Regions from separate parts of the Homo sapiens genome. Here region 2 is linked to region 1. Evidence: promoter capture Hi-C in 16 types of primary human blood cells and fetal thymus (Javierre and others, 2016). All regions are on one chromosome and are shown on one strand. Each heading gives the region's core, a stretch centred on a gene start or on the middle of the fragment in contact. The rest is flanking DNA. Distances are from core to core; before and after follow the strand shown.

Region 1 (4,488 bases), core at 1,037-3,536:
CTAGCTGAGCATTGCCCCTGAGCATTGGTAGCCACACCCCGGCCCCCGCCAGCAACCCGCTCGTGGTTCCCAGGAAACCTTCCAGAGGCAGTGGAGGTCTGGAGACTGGTCTTTAGCTCGTAAAAGTGAACATCCTGAATCCCCAGATAGTGGCACTCAGGGCACAAGTCTTGGCGGGGAGGAAGGAAGCCAGCTGAGTGGGCCAGTACAATCCTGGGACGTCTGCCCCTACGACTGGCAAACCCAAAAGAGGTTTGCGCAGGGAGGGGCCTTGCTGCGGAGATGGAGGAGGGGATGGTTCTGCTCTGCAGAGGAGTGGAAAAGGAACAGAAAAAGCTATGCATCAAAATCCCAGCTTTCCCTGCTAGTGCTGGCAAAGACTTAGAAACCATCCAGGTGGTTGGAGATTCTCAACTATTGTCGATCACAGATGCTTTTGGAAAATCACTGAAGCCTCTGCCCTCTCTCTCAAAAACAACGCAAAGTTTTACAGACAGTTTCGTGAGACATCATGGAACTCCCCGGATTAAGCAGCCCAGTTGATCTACCCTCCTCTTTCAACTCAAAAAGAAATGAAAACCAGAGAGGGCAAGTGTTGGTCAAGGTCACCCTGCAGCTGCTGGGCACAGCCTCAGGGCAGCGCAATCTAGCTGACTCAGGGCTGCAAGGAGTTGGGGGAGGGGCAGACTTGGGAGGCTCCCAGCTTCCCTAAAGGAGAAAGGGGACATTAAAACATGAAAGGGCCCACCAGCCACCTCCGCCACAGGCAACAACTGACTGTAGTAATGGTTCCCTCTAGGAAGAAAGGATGCGAAAAGGTCCTGACCCACCCCCACGTGGAAGATTTAAGGTAGGAACGTTAAGCACTGAGCAGGTAGTGGGAAGGAGCCTGGTAGGGGTGAGAGGAATAGAGTTTCTTGCGGGGTGTAGGAGAGGGCATGGCAGCATTGGCGGGGAAGCCTTGCTACTTAGAAGGGCTAAGAGTCTCCAGCGCTTGCAGACCAGAATCCTGCACCACTTTTTTCCTGTAGAGGAAACTTGTTTTTTTCTTGACGGGGGAGGGATCTCAGAGTGGGGTCGCCTAAGCTTGGGGTAGAGAGCAGCAGGGGGCCCAGAGTTGAAGTACAGCCGTAAAGAACCTGGAAAGGGGGAACCGAAGGACAACCCAGAGTTGGGGCGTCCCACAAGAGACCCAGAGTAAAACTGCGATTTAACTAGGGGCATGCACTTTGCAGAGGGAAGGTGAGCAGCGCGCCACTCCACGCGCAGTCCGGCAGCGCCCCCTTGGGTCACGCAGCCCAAAAGTTCGCTGCGGGGTCAGCAGGGGCGCCCCTCCCCCCACCCGCGCGCCTGCGTACCTCGGAACCACTCCTCGGACTGCAGCGTGCTCTGCACCGCGTGGCCTTCAAGCTGCGCGCGAATCTCGCGCAGCGCCGACGTCACGTCGCACTTCAGGGCGTCGCGCGTCTCGGCCTGCATCTGCGCCTGCGCGGCGCCGGAGCCCTGGATCTGGCCGAGCAGCTCGCCCACCTCTTCCTGGTGGTGGCGCCGCAGGTAGCCGCACTCCTCCTGCAGCGCCTGCGCCTTCTTCTGCAGGTCCACGCGCGCCGCCTCGGCCTCCTGCGCGAAGCGCGCCAGCGCGCGGGCCGCCGCCTCGGCCTCCTCTCGCTGCCGGGCCTCGTCGTCTAGGCGCTGGCGCACGTGCGCGATGTCCTCGAGCAGGTGCTCCTGCTCCAGGCGTAGCTGACCGCGCGCCGCGCCCAGGCGCAGCACCGCGCCGCGCATCTCGCGGACCTCGCGCTCGTACAGCTCGCCCATAGCGGAGCGGCCCGCCTGCTGCTGCCGCAGCGCCGCAGCCTCGCCCTCCAGGCTGCGGTTGTGCGCCTCCAGCTGCCGCACCTTGTCGATGTACCCGGCGAAGCGGTCGTTCAGCGCCTGCAGCTGCTCCTTCTCACTGCGTGAGGTGGCCACCGCCACCATGCAGCCCTCCGGCCCGTTGCTCAGCGTGTCCAGCGAGTCGGTGCTTGAGGCGGCGCCTGCGCCACGGAAGCGGCTGGGCGAGGCGGACACGGAGCTCACGGACGTCCGTGTCCACGAGTGGAAGCCGCTGGAGGAGCCAGCGGCGGAGCGCGTCCCGCCTGCGCCACCCTTTCGGGCTAGCGCGTAGTGGAGGCTGCCGCCGCCATGCAGCGGCGCGAACGGGGCGCCCAGCAGCGCGTCCGCGCCGCCGAAGCTCATCATGGCCTGAGCAGGTGCGCGAGGCCGGGACGGGGCGGGAGGCACTGCGGCAGCACCAGGGCGCCGGCCCTTTTATAGCCGCCGCGGCCGGGTCCAACCCCTTGGCAGTGAGAGGGTGGGGAGGAGGGCCCCGCCCTCTCCGCCTCCTCCCCTGCGGCCCCCCGGCCGACCGGCTCCGCCGCAGTGAGAGGGGCGGGGCAGGGGACCGAGGAGGGAAGGGGAATCGACGCTGCGTCAGAGGAGACCCTCGAGGTCGGGGAAGCGGGCAGAGGACTCCCGGAGTGGGCCAGTGAGGACCCCCGGGTGCGCGTCGGAAGAGCCTGCGAGTGTGTTCGGAATAAGAAAGGGGACTTGAAACAGGGAGAGGACAAGGAGAAACCTGATGGGAATAGGGGCAGGATGCCCTCGGGATGGAGCAATGGAAGATTGCAGTCATTAGGATGAGGGGATCCCTGTATGAGACAGGACACGAGGCTTTCCAAATAGTTAAGAGAGGCTTTCAGGATAGGGGGTGCAGAGACTGTGCAGCCAGCCCCGGAACAGAGGAGGGAGCAAGGCAGTCCTGAATGGGAGCATGGACGCTCCATAGAACGGAGACAGGAGACCCCTGACCGGGGGAGGTACAGTGTTCTCCTAACATCTAGAGGACCCACTTGGAGAGCGCTCAGGAAACTCCGCGGCCAGCCCCGGAATAGATGAAGGGGGACCTGGAGTTGGGGAGAATAGCAAGGCTACCCTGAATGGGGGTATGGGAGACACTGCAGAGGATGGAGAGAGGGAACCCCGGATGGGTGGGGTTGGGGGGAGGCAAGGCGTTCTCTAAAAAGTCTGCAGTGGCCCCCGAGAGAGGAGATGGGAGACCCTGCTGCCAGCCCCAGTAAAGGGGACGGACCCTCAGCGAAGCGGGCAGAAGGTCCCCTGAACAGGCAGGAGAAAGCTGGGCTGAGTTTGAGGGGCAGAGAACCTACAGTGGGGGTACCGTAGGAGGGCTTGGGCATGAAGTTGAGAGAGCTGGCCCCTGTGTGGGGTGGGGGGAAATGATGGGTGTCACCCGAGCCAGCTTCTGCACACTGGGGTCAGCTAGGCAGTTTGCTGGTCGAATGACCTTGGACAAGCTGTGTCCTCCCACCCTTGTTTTTCCATCTGTACAACGAAGGGGTCTTGCCCCAGAGACAAGCTCCAACTCCTGACCCCCGACTGCCCCAGGAAGTTCCACTTTGAGGGGTCTCTGGCTGAACTGGGGATGGGGAACCCACATCTTGCCGTTCTGTCAACACTAGGAAGTCCTCTTTTCTCCCTCCCCCTCCCCATCTTCTCAGCCTCAACTTGTCCTCTCTTCCCCCACTCCTGTAACAGACAAGCAGGCGCCTGAGTCGGCATCCCTTCTCTCTTACAGGGAAGTGATGAGATGCTTTCTGAGTACCAAAGTCCCTCACCCCAATAGGATGTCAGGTAGAAGAAGGGGTCCCCAGGATTTAGGGGGCCCTGCAACGGCTGTGACATTTGGCTCTTTATTGGTTTTGGCTCATGTTTTATGCTGTGGGAGTGGGGGTGGTGCTGCGGCTGGCGCTTCAGCACCGGGGACAGGGCCTGCTCTTTGTTGGGCGTGGGGCGGGGAAAGAGATTAACCCTCTGCTTTTACTTTAGGGGAAGGAAGGGAGGGACACTGTGCTGAGGGGACCCGAGAGGGGAGGCAAGTGATCCAGCAGGGTCACATAGTGAGCCAGGGACCCCTCCCTGGACTTCCTGTCGGGGGTCCAGTTCCGTGTTTTCTGGGCTGTTCCCCTCCTGCTTAGGGACCCCTGCGAAAGGACCCCTGGGGATGCTGGGAGCCCTGAGACGCCCTTGAGAGTTTGTAGACTCGTACTTCCACTCTGAACCTCCCCCAGGCAGTTATCTCAACACCCACTACACCCCTACTTTACGCGGGTTTTCCTGCTCCAGGATCCCCAGGACAGAACAGACATATCCCCCAGGAAAGACCTCTGCCAGTTCCTTTCTCTTTGCCCTCTGTCTCCTTCCAGCCCCCTAGTTCTAAGCAGACCCTCAGAGCTGGGAAATTGATGGCGCTGTCCCTTTAACCACTTTTTACTGGAAGGAGAGTGCGCTGGGAGGAGGGAAGAGGGGGAGGGAGTTTCTGGTTTTGCATGAAGCAGCAGAACATGATGAAGCATTTTTCCCCCATCTAAAGATCCAGTCGTGCTCCAGTTTGCAGAGGGCAAGGGGCTGGTTGCAGGTGGTGCTGGGAGG
Region 2 (4,392 bases), core at 107-2,606, 520 kb before region 1:
AGAATTGTCTTAAGTAACCTCAACTTAGATTTAGGCAAGCTCCCTTAAGTAACTAGGAGTTTAGAATAATCACCACATGCACAAAGGAAAAAGCTGTGAACTGCACTACAGATGGGTGCCCTTTACATCATCTTGCTATGTTAGAGCAATCTCTACCTTCAGTTATAAATCCAATTAAGTGCTCTCTCATCACAGTAGGACAAAGCCCTAATCAAGCGCTGGTTCAGCATGGTGCTGTCAAGTAACTGCTGCTGGCAACCTCAGGAATCATGACCCAATCTACAGACAACTAAATTCAGGAAATGGATGTCAAGAGTTCCAGGCATCCTGCCACCTAGGCTGGCAAAGCAGAGCATGGTGGAGGATCCGATTCTTCCACACGCCCCTTACAAAGCTCCCAAATACTACAGCAACCCAGTCTGCATCTCAGCGATACAAGACACATGTTCTGAGACAGAGCCCAGTTCCAGGAAACCTGCCTGATTTTGCATGGATGACTACACCAAGAACTTTGTGATCTTTTGAAAGACTTTCTCTGAAAAACTGCAAATAAAATTTTTCATTTATATATCCTCTTGTATCTCTAGAAAAAGGGGGGGAAAACCTAGGGTGCATGCCCTCTAGAATTAATTTTAGAAGGTGCATGCCCTCTAGAATAAAATTTAGAAAAAAAGGAAGTTTTTCTTCAACCAGCCCTCTTAAGCTTCTCTTCCCAAAGGGAGAATTCACCTAAAGCCTCTTATTTTGCAAATAAGAGTACCTTCCCCCTTTTGGTCAAAGTCAGCAAGCCCCACAGATGCCAGGGCTGCTGACCTAACACAGTTGTTGGCCAGAGCAGCAACTGGCTGCTTTCCCCATTCCAGCTGAGCTGATCATTGATAAGACTCATAAATCCCTTCAGCTTTCACTACTCTCTAGTTCCTGTAGCATCCTTACCACTTGAATGACAGGTAAATTTGGTGACTGACTTTTCTAGGGGTGTCTGAAAACAACAGTGATGAGAATTGAGATTAAAAACGTAATGAGTTCCACTGGGCCAGAGCAAATACTTTTCCATCTCTCTCCATTCAGAGTGGGCATCAGAGTTTGCCTTTAGTAGACTAAATGAACAAGCTGGTTACCTCTGTAGGAATTCCACAAGGAGACAAATCCCTTCCTACAATCTCAATATTTCAGTGGAATGAAGTTTCTAACTGTAAGCCACTGGATTGGCCCAACTCAGGGAGAGTCCAAAAAGCCGGCAAACTGGGAAAATGAAATGGAGAATGTAAACATTACAAAGAGATGACATCCAAAACATTTCCAGAATAAGAAGGAAGGACTTCTTTAAAATTTAATAGGATTCTGTGAGAACTAAGATATTCAATGAATTACAAAAGCAGCACTCAAGAGATTTAACCTATTCCAAATGCTGGTACAGAAGCTCAGTGTTTATAGCCCCTCATTTAGAATCAGAACATATCTACAAAATAAGAACTACCATTCCCATTGTATTCATTAGGAACAGACTGAGGTCAGTTAGGGAACTTATTCAAGGTGCCTTAGCAAGAAGTCTAAGAATATACCTGAATTCAGATCTGTGATTCCAAAATCTGTGCTCCATCACCATGCCACCATCCCCATCTAGAACTTGCATCCCATGGCTCTCATGCCTCTGATCACTGAAATCTTCTATCTAGTCATGCCTCAGTCTTCTTCTCTAAATGCTTCCTCTCGAAACAGAGTTCTTCCACATGTCAAAGTTTCAACCACAAAGACAATCAGAGCCAACTCGACCCTATATTCCCAAAGATCACTTTCTAAGACTCATCTCTCAATCCAAAAGCCCTGCTAACAGCTGAAGCTAAATGCTTAGTAAGCACATTATCTTCTCACAGAATGTAAGAAGGATATTGAAATAGCAAGTCCAGCCACTTTACAACTAAAACTTTCTTATCTGTTTCAAATGAACAACCAGCTAGTGTTCTGAATGCAGTCAGTACTGATGTGTTACTGGAGGAGAAGCTTTAACAATAAGGAAGTACAGCCTTGCCTAGAAAGTTCTCTGAACTCTCCCCACCCTTCCCAGGTTAGCAGCAGCAGAGGCAGCAGACCATATGCAGCAGGCAGCAGCACCAGCCCAAGCTGGGACTGGTCCAGTTTAACTTACCTGTAGATGACGGCAGGGATGCGCTTCCAGGACCTGAAACTTGATACACTTTCCAGTTCTTTGTCAGTGATCCAGGCAGGCACTATGAGCTCTTGAGGATAGCTACCACATAATCTAAAGAGAAGATGAGAAGTGGGGAGAGTCAAGGGGATAAGAGAGGGAGAGAGAAAACGGGAGAGAGAGAGAGACACTAGGTGAGCCAGCATAAGGATGATGATCTCACTGCCACAGAACCAGTTAAAGGCAATGAGGCGCTTTATTCGAGTTTTGGACTCCTCAACAGAATGGGTTACCATAAGTGTGTTTTGTTTTGTTTTGTTGCCTTAAATGTTTACTTATGTGTATACAACAAATGATACTATCTTGAATTGTTCCACTTGATGCTACCTTTTGGGAATCTGGCAATCTTAACTATCAATGAAAAAAAGGGGAGTCGAGGGTCAGCTCTTTATACTCCATTACAACTCTTCTGCTGTAACAAGTACATAGGTTATTTCTAACTACATGAGCGCCCAGTCCAATTACAGAACTGAGAGTCCGTGTCAGTTCTACCAGACCCTCAGGGAAGGAAAAAAGCCCACAATTGCAAGTTTCCAGAGACTTCACAGGATTAACTCATTCTTTGATTTGAACCAAACAGGGTGTCATCCTTATAGGTAACAGGTGCAGCCATGGGTATGCAAAACCAACACAAGCCAGTCTATCTGCATACACAGCCTCAGTCCCATTGAACCAGGTTAGTAATGTGACTAAGCTATTAACCATAATTTCCATAAAACATACTTCAGAACAAATTATACTGGGGGCGGGGGGATAAGCTTTCTTTTAATTAGGGAAGATCCCAGCTACAGTCAAGCCGGTATCCTAGGAAGCAATACTTCCGATAGATTTTTACTTACAGGACAATGTCTCTCTCTGGATAATCCAATCTTCTTTTTTCAATAGTGAAGGCAATAAGGCCTTTAATCCAAATCCTAAAACACACAAACTCCACCAACACCACCAACCCCCTGCCCTAGCCTATCCTATACATAGCAGAAAGCGCAGAAAAACACAAAATGGCTTAGGATTTGGGGGTTTTGATCATTTTGCACTAAATCTCTCCTCAATTTCCAGAAGAGGAGACTTCTGGAATTTTCAGGAATTTAAAAGCCACTGAACAAAAGAGAATGGCTATGACTAAGAGTAGCTATACAAACTTCCTAACACCTATTCACAAACTCCTAAAAATAAGCTGGGAGCCAGTAATGATGGTTAATATCTAACCATGAATCTCATTCCCTTTATTATGTATTAAACTCAAGAGTAAACTTGGCTCTCACTCTTCTACCTTTGTAGTAGGAAGAACTTTCAACATCCTGTTGTTTCCCACCACCCCCCATTTTGTTTTATGGTGGTGATAACATCCTAAAGACTGGTTCTGAGGTATAACTGGTAAACTCCTTGAGACAGTTGTTCTGTTACCCGGGCTAGAGAGCAGTGGAGCGGTCATGGCTCACAGCAGCCTCGACCTCCTGGGCTCAAACAACTCTTCTACTTCAGCCTCCCCAGTAGCTGGGACTACAGGCATGCACCACCATGCCCAACTAATTTTTTTTTCTTTGAGATGGAGTCTCGCTCTGTCGCCCAGGCTGGAATGCAGTGGCATGATCTCGGTTCATTGCAAGCTCCACCTCCCGGGTTCACGCCATTCTCCTGCCTCAGTCTCCTGAGTAGCTGGGACTACAGGCGCCCGCCACCACGCTGGCTAATTTTTTTGTATTTTTAGTAGAGACGGGGTTTCACTGTGTTAGCCAGGATGGTCTCGATCTCCTGAGCTCGTGATCCACCCGCCTCGGCCTCCCAAAGTGCTGGGATTAGAGGAATGAGCCACCATGCCTGGCCAAATTTTTAAGAAATTTTCTGTAGAGATGAGGTCTCACTATGTTGCCCAGCCTAGTCTCAAACTCCTGGGCTTAATCAATCCTCTATCTTGGCCTCTCAAGAAGTTAATTTTTAAAAGCCGAATTGGGGATTATTTTCCAACAAGTCTGTCTTAATTCACAGTTTTTTTTTACTTGATCTAATTTTCTAAACATTCTGTTCATTGTCCTATAGGTACTACACTCCCAGTAGTCAGCTCTTCAGTATGCACTACCTACTCACTTGTGGATAAACAATTTCCAGTATAGGTTACACTCAGGAAAGCCTAATGCAGCCACAGGCTCTCTGAGGCCGCCCCCTCATCCAGCATTCACCCTCCT

Evidence for each region. Contacts are between HindIII fragments. The CHiCAGO score rates a contact against its expected background, and 5 or more counts as called.
Region 2: a contact is called between a fragment that was not itself captured here and the fragment with the promoter of NEFH in region 1, in 1 of 17 cell types (megakaryocytes). The highest score is 6.7, in megakaryocytes.

The regions. Positions count from the first base shown.
Region 1 is chr22:29,478,016-29,482,503 of GRCh38, reverse strand. It overlaps NEFH (neurofilament heavy chain), which reads right to left and starts at 2,286. Exons shown (of 4, transcript NM_021076.4): 1 at 1,359-2,286. The coding sequence starts at 2,241. It overlaps LOC107985541 (a long non-coding RNA gene), which reads left to right and starts at 4,378. Exons shown (of 4, transcript XR_001755482.2): 1 at 4,378-4,488. RefSeq lists enhancers at 410-1,264, 3,825-4,326. The HindIII fragment of the contact is 8,116 bases long and covers 1,089-4,488 here.
Region 2 is chr22:30,000,751-30,005,142 of GRCh38, reverse strand. MTMR3 (myotubularin related protein 3) reads right to left here. Exons shown (of 20, transcript NM_021090.4): 9 at 2,150-2,263. Among named protein-coding and RNA genes, the nearest start is that of MIR6818, 4.1 kb to the left of the region's middle. The HindIII fragment of the contact is 1,301 bases long and covers 706-2,006 here.